Linked DNA regions of Homo sapiens: regions 1 and 2 are each linked to region 3. Evidence: promoter capture Hi-C in 16 types of primary human blood cells and fetal thymus (Javierre and others, 2016). All regions are on one chromosome and are shown on one strand. Each heading gives the region's core, a stretch centred on a gene start or on the middle of the fragment in contact. The rest is flanking DNA. Distances are from core to core; before and after follow the strand shown. Region 1 overlaps ATF7IP (activating transcription factor 7 interacting protein). Region 2 overlaps ATF7IP (activating transcription factor 7 interacting protein). Region 3 holds the start of HEBP1 (heme binding protein 1).

Evidence for each region. Contacts are between HindIII fragments. The CHiCAGO score rates a contact against its expected background, and 5 or more counts as called.
Region 1: a fragment that was not itself captured here is called in contact with the fragment with the promoter of HEBP1 in region 3 in 2 of 17 cell types (M2 macrophages and erythroblasts); the score reaches 9.2 in M2 macrophages.
Region 2: a fragment that was not itself captured here is called in contact with the fragment with the promoter of HEBP1 in region 3 in 4 of 17 cell types (M2 macrophages, erythroblasts, total CD4 T cells and 1 more); the score reaches 7.1 in M2 macrophages.

Annotation. Positions count from the first base shown.
Region 1 is chr12:14,373,027-14,376,461 of GRCh38, reverse strand. The region is part of intron 1 of ATF7IP (activating transcription factor 7 interacting protein); the gene reads right to left. Among named protein-coding and RNA genes, the nearest start is that of ATF7IP, 9.1 kb to the right of the region's middle. The HindIII fragment of the contact is 4,822 bases long and covers 1-3,435 here.
Region 2 is chr12:14,388,861-14,391,824 of GRCh38, reverse strand. The region is part of intron 1 of ATF7IP (activating transcription factor 7 interacting protein); the gene reads right to left. Among named protein-coding and RNA genes, the nearest start is that of ATF7IP, 25 kb to the right of the region's middle. The HindIII fragment of the contact is 8,543 bases long and covers 1-2,964 here.
Region 3 is chr12:12,998,481-13,001,916 of GRCh38, reverse strand. It overlaps HEBP1 (heme binding protein 1), which reads left to right and starts at 1,652. Exons shown (of 4, transcript NM_015987.5): 1 at 1,652-1,880. The coding sequence starts at 1,803. All of the region lies in intron 2 of GPRC5D-AS1 (GPRC5D and HEBP1 antisense RNA 1), which reads right to left. It also overlaps the pseudogene HTR7P1. RefSeq lists an enhancer at 1-133 and silencers at 558-707, 1,468-1,587, 1,638-1,787. The HindIII fragment of the contact is 1,773 bases long and covers 795-2,567 here.

The DNA.
Region 1 (3,435 bases), core at 897-3,396, 1.4 Mb before region 3:
CTGTATTTTAAATCAACACCTCATTAGACCTATGTGAATCAAATGGCTAAAGAAAACATGAAAATATACCAAATCGGAAAATCATTTAACAAACTTTATGGCCAAATCTGTGCCTTAAGAGGCTGGAGCTTGATTTCAAGGAAGGGCTATGGATGAAAAATGATACTTTGTCTCAATTTTGAGTAAGCATGTCCAGCAGATGTTTTTAAAGGAGGGCAAGGAGGAATCCTATGTGGAATTAGTGCCCAAAATAAATGCCTTCATCCCTAACTTTGCCAATGATGAATGCTGCCAAACCTTGCAGATATGACAATCAATGTGAGAAAATGGCTGCTTTTTCACCAGGAAGATGTTTACTGTAAATTTAGTGAATTTAGTAATCGTGTGGCGTTTTTTCCTTTAAATACCCGTTTGTTTTTTAATGAGTCAGTCCTAAAACTGGTCTCCATCACAAACCTTTACAAGTAAACTACTTTCTTAAATGCTTATTTACCTTACTAATGAGTGGTAATATGAAACCGACCTTTCCAAGTTACTTTTTAAATGCATTTACATTCTAGCTCCAGAAATCAAGAATATTATTTTCATAAATCTCCCTGTACTGCAGGGCTCCCTGCACATAGTTGCTTCTTAATAAATATTCATGACTGACTAATTGATTCACCAATTGATTAAAGCTAGAGATATGTGTGAGGCACAGATGCTAAGCATTTTATATATCTAATCATATTTAACCCTCACAACACTACCATGTAGGTGGTAACACCACATTTTAAAGATAAAGAACACTGAGAGGAGACACTAATTGCCCAGGTCCCAATACAAAACTACTGTTCTTTCCACTTCACTGTATAACTAACTGATTTTAGGAAAATTTTTTGTTTTTTCTTTTGTTCTTCTTTTCTTTCTTCATTTTTTTATTTATTTTTATCTTTCAATGTTTAAATCATTTAAAGTAAGTTTGGTGGGGGAAGAGGATTATACAAACCTAAAATACAAAATAATTATATCATTCCATCTTTTCCTCAAACCCTTATTAATTTACATACGTAGGTTCTTCACAGTCATATTTTAGAAACTTTTTATTAACAAGCAACTGGTTCTTAATGGATGACATTGAAAACTGTTTTTCCTAAAAGCAACTATTTATTATTTTTCATATGTAAAGTGCCTGTCAAATCTTCCCATGACAATTCATCATGTGGGTATTTGCCATCTGAGTAAATTACATGTTTGATTAAAAAAAAAAAGTTCTGACATCTGTGGATAATGAGTTAAATAAAAGAAAATAATTAGAATATCTTATTCCCTTTTTTTTTTCACCTCCACCTAAAACGAAGGAATTCTATTCTTTCAATAAGCAAGTATTTATTGAATATTAAGGGAGGCATGGTGGAAAGCAAGGCATGGTGGAAAGCAATCTTACACTTTTAATAGTGGTCTTATCATACCTTATTAGAAAGGATTTGTCTTAAAAAATTGTCAGATATATCAATAAGATATGATTCCTAACCCCAGGAAACTTATAAAGTACTACACAAAAAACAAATAACTATAAATATAAAAGTGGAAAGGAATAAATGCCTTTAAAAAATATATGAAGTAAAGCAAAGAAAAATTAGAGAATTTCCAGTTGAGAGCAACAACATGCTTTAATAGGCATACTATGTGGGTGCCATGGCAACTATGACTTTTATTCACAAAAACCAAGGATTTGTATCACAGAGCTATTAAGAGTTCTCCTAACACACTACCTTCCTTTCTGGCTCTAAGATTTTGAACATACTATTTATTCTCTTTACTAGTATTATCTGTCTAATTCATTCCTTAAAATACAACTCCCATAAAATCTCCTTGATCTCCTTCCAACACTCTCACCACTTTCTGTACCCTACAAAAATATATATTGTTTTACTTGTCATATTCTGTAGAAAGCTACTTTTAACTACTTACTTATTAATCAGGTAAGTTTTGCCTATATGCAGAGAATTTACAACCACAATCTTTTTACCTGTGTATATTACAAGGCCCTTGGAAGTCACATTTTCGGCCAGGCACAGTGGCTCACACCTGTAATCCCAACATTTTGGGAGGCCAAGAGGGGAGGATTGCTTGAGCCCAGGAGTTCAAGACCAGCCTGGGCAACAAGGCAAGACCCCCATCTCCACAAAAAAAAAAAAAAAAAAAAATTACAAAATTAGCTGGGTTTGGTGGCATGTGCCTGTAGTCCAAGCTACCTAGGAGGCTGAGTCAGGAGGATCCCTTGAGCCCAGGAGGTCAAGGTTACAGTGAGCCATGATCACACCACTGCACTCCAGCTGGAGTGACAGAGTGAGACCCTAGTCTCAATTAAAAAAAAAAAAAGTCATATTTTCCATCATGGAAAATGTATATTTTATACATACAGTTATAAACAGAGAAAAAAAAATCTGGATAAAATAATGCAAACATAAACTATTCAAACAATTGTCACTCGATTCATCTACAGTCCTTTTGAATTAAGCAAGTTAACCTGTAAAGTTCAAAAATACTACACTGAGTTTTAAAAATTTGAAATTCTAATTCTTGCAAAACTAATCATAATGTTTTCAACGGCAAGCAGAGAGGGGAAGAATTCTATCAAATATAAATATTTATAATAACTGGGACCCCAACCACAAATCATGAACACAAAACCCCCAAAATACCATTTCAATGGAAAATATACAGTTATACTATAACTGAACCTAAATCTTAAAAGAGAAATAGTTTTCAGTACCAAATTATGAAGTACTTTGAGACCACTTCTCCCAATTCCTTATATAGCAGAAAATGCTATTCATTAATATCCATTTCTCTTTTATAAAATTCTCTAGTTTTAGCTAAGCATATGATTATCCAGCTAGATATATTTCCCAGACTTCCTTTCCCAGCTAAATATGTCCCAATGACTAAATGATCACACATAAACCATGAGTCAAAGTGCTATGTGCCACTTCCATATCATGCTCTCAAAAGAAAGAATATGCACTCCCATTGTTCTTTCTTCCTTGCCTCTAGCTAGTAAAACTAGAGAGTAATCATGTTTCACCTAGTGATGGAAGCCATATGTTAAGGCAAAACCACTTACAAACTCTAAACAGTCTTACTTTGTATGGTTACATGAGAAAAAAACATGTGTCATCTTTAAACAACAGGAATGGAGTCTCCTATACTGTGGCAGCTTAGTTTTTACTCTAATGGAATTCACTTCTGACATTTACCACCTAAAAGGAAATAAAAGAGTTCAAAAGCAGTCTCTCTTTTCCCTTACATGCTTTTTCCTATGACATTCTATCTAATAAGAGTAACAGGGCAGATATACATCTAAGGCTCCAAAGCCTTAGCTGGGAATAAGCTGCAGCAGTCAAGTCATCCTTTATTGTTCCATCAAACTCTTTCTCCTGGTCCTCAAAA
Region 2 (2,964 bases), core at 68-2,567, 1.4 Mb before region 3:
GCTTGAACCTGGGAGGCGGAGGTTGAAGTGAGCTGAGATAGCACCATTGCACTCCAGCTTGGGCAACAAGAGCAAAACTCTGTCTCAAAACAAACAAACAAACAAACAAAATACCTAAGACTTACTGAACACATAATCATAAATAGGTACTGTACTTTGAGCACTATATATCCATTTTTCATATAACCTATAACTAATGAGAGGAAGAACATGGATTCACCCTGACTCTGTTTGACTCAAAGTTGGTGTTCTTCCAACGACCCATCTCATTTAATGATCAGGGATAACACAAAGAGGTTAAATATTTATCCAAAACTACACAATTACTTAATAACAGTACGAGAGCAGAAGTAATCTTTTCCTAACTTCTATACTAATGTTTTCCACTATGTATGCCATGGTACAGGTATTTCTATATCCAACAAAGGGATACACGAGTCAGATAGTTCTACTGGCAGTTGGCTAGCTGTATCTGCCTTACTTCAGAAGGAAAGACAAGATTCCCTCAGGCAGATGCAGAAGCAACTCCTCAGACCTCTCTCCAGTGTTAAGGTCCCTCTTTCACTAAACTGATGAAGATTTGCTAAATCAATTTGTGCTGTTTTCACAATTTCCATATTCACATATTAATGACTAATAACAGACTGTTACATATCACCAACAGAGAACTCTTTGTGAGAGTTCTAACCTGAGCAATTAAAAAACAATCACTTATTTGAATAGACATTAGGCTTTCTCTCAAATCACTTTCTCTTTTCAAAGTGTGAAGAGCAGTAAAGCAGGGGAGTCACTGTTTCCTGTGCAAGTTAATCACTTTTTCAATTTTCTCTAAAGTTGAACTCTAACTAGAAAACCATTTTCCAAAAAGGCATAACATTCTTTTAGCACTTCCTTAGAGTTACCAATGTCGTGGTATTATTTGAATGTTAACAAGCTGGCTTTCACTCTGGGAAATGTGGAATTCAAATTTAAGTCAGATCAAGATTATAAATTATCATGTTTCATGCATCATCAAGGTAGTCTTCACATAGACACTGTAAATGTTAAATTAATAAATGTAAATAGATGTAAGTTTTCAACAAAAATAAAGTTTGTAATGGCCTAACGGCCATTATCTAATCTAGTGTACGGTTAAGAAAACATTCTATTAGGAAATTTACTCATTATTTTCAGTGATAAACTTCTTAGCTCAACTAATTTGAGCAAAAATCTTTTATAAAATGTTATTTCATTTATCTGTTCAGTAAACTGCATAGCTTGAATACACTTTAACTTTTTCTTATTCAGTATCACCATTAAGAACATCAAGTTGATAGTGATGTCCTTTAACACAGCGGTAACATTTAAAGAAAACAGAACTGATTATCACATAAAAGATCTCAAGGTACTTAGATGTTTCTAATTAGTATTTCTTTAATCTCTTCACTTTCAATCGTTACTTGTTGTTATGCCATTGGATCTCCTTCATTTGGCTCCCATGGCACTCTATATAAAATTAGGACAAAGTGAAAGGTTACAAAAGGTGCCATATCTTCTAAAGAGTAAACTGACTTTATATATTCTAAGTCTCTCCTACCAAGTAAAGTAGGCTAAATTTTACTTATGTTTACTTTCTTTTGGGTTAGAAGTTATATTTTAGATATTTAAGGCTGCCAATAAACTATCAAATACGTAGGATAGGTCTTTAAAAGGAACTGTCTTCCAAGGCCACGCAGGTAACGTGATTCAGTGAAGAGGACCAGAGGTGGGCAAGAGAAGGCCCTATCTGAAGGAGACAGCATCTATACTCAATTGTAGATTGCTATCCTCAAGCAAAAATGTTGTTTGCTTTTCAAGAGGCAAGACATCTAGATTTTTAGGTAAAATCTGACAACTTTAAATGTTAACAATTAGAGAAATGGGGCTGGGGGCGGTGGCTCACGCCTGTAATCCCAGCACTTTGGGAGGCCGAGGCGGGCGGATCACCTAAGGTCAGGAGTTCAAGACCAGCCTCAACATGGAGAAACCCAGTCTCTACTAAAAATACAAAATTAGCCGGGCGTGGTGGTGCATGCCTGTAAACCCAGCTACTCGGGAGGCTGAGGCAGGAGAATTGCTTGAACCTGGGAGGCAGAGGTTGCGGTGAGCCGAGATCGCGCCATTGCACTCCAGCCTAGGCAACAAGAGCGAAACTCCGTCTCAAAAACAAAAAAAACAAAAAACAAACAATTAGAGAAATGGGCTGGTGACTAAAGAATAAAAGTAAGTTTGCTGGCTGCCAGTTTATAGCTCTGAAAATGAATTTTTTTCAAAGAGAATTTACTGTTTTTATGATTCTTATTTGTACTGAAACACAGGAAACTCTAGGCCGTGAATTCAAGTCATGTTTTTAGATAAGTTATTTTCTCACAGTGTATTTGAAGAACTCAGCCAGACTATACCCAAAACACTTCTCCTACTCCTCTAAATTCTGTAATGTCAACATTCTATATTGGCTTTACTTAATAAATACATCTGCCATATCCATACACAACAAAGGATGGCTAATTTATGCTAACAGAGTAGGACCCAGTACTACAAAAACGAATATATAACATTACTAAGTGGATATGATGTTACTTAGCACTTCTTGCTTCTGAGCATGAGTTATATAAGAAATTTCCCATAGTTTTTAAATACACACTGATCCAATCACACTTGAAAAGGTATATGACACTCGAGAGGCAAATAAACTGAAATGCATTTGGATATTACTGAGAAAATTAGTATGCAAGATTTTTGCAGAGTATTTCAAGATACTATTCTGAAACATTATGTAAATTGATTCTGAGCATATGCTTACCAAATAGATAGGAAATTTCCCCCATTTTATAGACGAAGAAACGAAAATCAAAAAATGGAATGAACACAGGGCACGATGCCTCATGCCTGTAATCCCAGCATGTCAGGAAGCTGAGGTGGTCAGATCACTTGAGGCCAGGAGTT
Region 3 (3,436 bases), core at 403-2,902:
ACTGATGAAGGGCATGACCGCCATGGCCACCGAGAGGTTGGCCAGCGCCATGGACACGATCAGGTAGTTGGAGGGCTGGCGGAGCTTCTTGACGAAGCACACGGAGATACCACCAGGCAGTTGCCCGCGATCGCAGAGAGATGAGCGTCAGGACAGAGCCGATCACAACTTTCTCGGCCCTTTCTTGATTTGCTCCCCGCGGCCGGAGGCATTGCCCGGGGTTGCGTCCCAGGTGGGCGCCGGGCTGGCCGTCACCTCGGGGGCCCCCGCTCAGCAGATGCGGCGTCCCGGAGACCGCGACCGGTTCGGCGCCACCGTCGGGGCTCAGGTCGGGCAGCCTGCCCCCCACCTCCGGCAGGAGGAAAGAGCAGAGGCGCCCGTAGAGGTCCGGGTGGCCGCTGCTGTTAACATCCATCACTGCGCCGCCGTGTGGCGCTGCCCAAGAAGCCGCCCCACCCCCCTCCCCACCCCCGCGGCCGCCACAGGCTCCGGCTTTCGGCCCCGGGGCTTCAACTCGCCGGTTCCCCTCCGCCCGGCCCAGCTTGAGGCCTGCACCGGCCGCTGGGCAGCGCCAGGCTCGGCCTCGGGGCCCCGCCTGTCCCAGATCCCCGGCCGCTGCGTGAAACGCGAGAGCGCTGCCGAGCGGGGACTCCCTGAGGGAGGGACCTCGGACCCCGACGGACGCCCGGGACGCGCGGGCTCTCGGGCGCTCCGGCGGGGCTCGGCCCGCGGCTCCACAGCCCGCTGCACCCGCGCGGCTCGGAGCAATGGAGGATCAGGCAGCGGCAGAAGCTTCCGTTTCCTCCTTTTTAAATGGCTCCAAAATATTTCTTGTCGGTGGTGTGGAGTAGAGATTTATTGGTAAAATACTTGACAGAAAGCAGGCACTCAGCTGAGTAAATGGTGACAAAATTGGTGAGAAGATTTTTGAACAGGAGTGAACGAGAAAAGCCATGCTTAGAAAAGTCACCTGGAAACTGTGATTTAGAGGGATGGTAGGAAAGAGTGGCAGCAGGAAAGTGGTTTGGATGCTCTTTCAATGGTCTAGAAGAGGTCATGGGGCGGGGGTAGAGGGACAGCTACCAAGACAGGGAGCCTGGCCGCCGCTGTACCAGCGGGATCGAGCCTTCGGGTAGAGGACCGGAGAAGCGTGAGCAACCCGGGGCTCGGAGGTTGGAGCCCAGGCACCTGAGAGAGGACGTTCCCCACCACCGCTGCCTAAAGCCACTCCAGGCGAGAATCGCTTTCCAGGGCCCCAGCGGATAGGTTAGACTCAGAATAAGAGAAGGGGTCTGCGGAGGGGGACGGCCTGAGGCCCGCGGCCGGGTTCCCTCCCCAGACACCCGCGGAAAGCCCGAAAGGAGGCGGAACACGGCCCAGCGGCTCGCCACGGCGGGCCCATCCCTTGCTTAGCCGCCTCGCACCCTCGCCTCACCGCACTGCTGCACTGCTGCACTGCTGCCCTGCTGCCCGCCCTTCGCATCACTGACCCGCCCTCTCTCCGCCCCCTCGCCTCGCCGCCCCGCCCTCTCTCTCCGCCCCTTCACCTCGCCGTCCCGCCCCCTTGCCTCACCGCCGGGCTGAATTGCCGCCCCGCCCTCTAGCCACGCCCTCTGGCCCCTGCCTCTAGCCCCGCCTCTCGCCTCGCCGCCTCGCCGTCCCGCCGCCTTGCCGCCCTGCCACCCTGCCGCCCTGCCGCCCTGCCGCCCTGCCGCCCTGCCGCCGGTGGTCGCTGCCCGTGGTGCTCCGTCGCCCCCGCCACCTCACGTCCTCCCGTGCGTCGGGAGCGTCTCGGCTACAACATGTTGGGCATGATCAAGAACTCGCTGTTCGGAAGCGTAGAGACGTGGCCTTGGCAGGTCCTAAGCAAAGGGGACAAGGTAGGCCCGCAGGGCTGCCGAGGACCTGAAGGATTGCTGCCTCCCACCCCCACCCTCGTCGGGGCTGCAGCGGGTGCTGAGGGGCAGGTGGGGCAGGAATGTGCTATCGAAGGTGCGTTCTGGTGTCTGTCGCGAGTGCGGCTCTCCACCGCCCAGCATTTGGACTGGGAAGGAAAGGAGTGAGAGGTCCCCCTGCAGCCGGTGGTGAGAGGAGGGGGGTAAACAGGAGAGACTGATCCAAGGAGAGAATCCCAACTTGGGGAGTTGGGCACTGCCTGTTGAATGCATTCTTTCGTTTAAAATATTCCAAACATTCCGAACAGTTTGATTTGTTGAGAGACACTCGGTTGCAGAAATGAGTGTCGCAAGAAACTCCCAAGTACTAGAGAACTGCGGATAGTAGCCCCCTTTATCCGCGATTTCAGTTACCTGTGGTCAGCTCTTGTCCATAACTATTAAATGGAAAATTCCAGAAATACAGAAGTCCTAAGTTTTAAGTTTCCGGCCATTCTGCGTAGCAGGATGAAATCTTGATTCCTGGGACCGGAATGCCCCTTTGTCCAAGGTCAGCCTCCTATCTCTAGTAGCCGCCCTTAGTCACTTAGTAGCTAGCTTGGTGATCGGATCGACCGTGGCGGTATTGAAGTAACCCTTATTTTACTTAGTAATGGCCCCAAAGTGCAAGCTTAGCAATGCTGGCATATTGTTATAATTGCTGTTATTTTATTATTGTTGTTCATCTCTTACTGTGCCTAATTGATAAAGTTAAACTATATCATAGGTATGTATGTATAGGAAAAAACGTAGTAGATACAGGGTTCAGTTTTGTCCACCGTTTCAGGTATCCACTGGGGGGCTTGGAAGGTATCTACTATAGATAAGGGGGACTACTGTGTAAAAGAACAAGATCTGTGCAGAATAGATATAAATGCGCTACGCAGGGAGCACAGAGGCAGTCAATTCTGCCAGGGGGCTATGATGGGGACCTCAGTGGAGTGTCCTGAGCTGGGGCCTCAGGGATGTGTAGGAGTGCACACAACAGAGAAGAGCATGCACAAAGGCCCAGAGCTGTACCATTGCTTTTGGCCAGTTAGATCCTCTGGAGTTGGGTACCTAGAATACAGAATGAGTGAGAAGAGCATAATTGCTGTCTTCCCCCAAATTTATATCAGTGCTAACATGGGCTAACTGGACTGCACCCCTGAAAACAAGGAGAGTGCTGCTAGATTATAATCTCCTGGTGGACAGGTAGTTTAAACAGTGCAGCTGTATACAGAGCTCCCAATACGATGCCTCATTTGTGAAAGGACTGTATTGCCTGGGGGCCAAGTTCTGATACCTAGTACAATGATCTTCATATCACGAAAGCCCTCAATTAGACTCTAATCTGAACTCTTTGACAACCAAAGACCTTTCACCTGTTCTTATCTCCGTTTCCCCAGCTCTATGTAGAATGAACAGTTTAGCCCTGATCAGAGGTCCCACATTTGAATACCTGCAGCAACCAGGCAGGTAATGGAAATGGATGAAGCTGGCTGTTTTAGGCTATAAGGCAT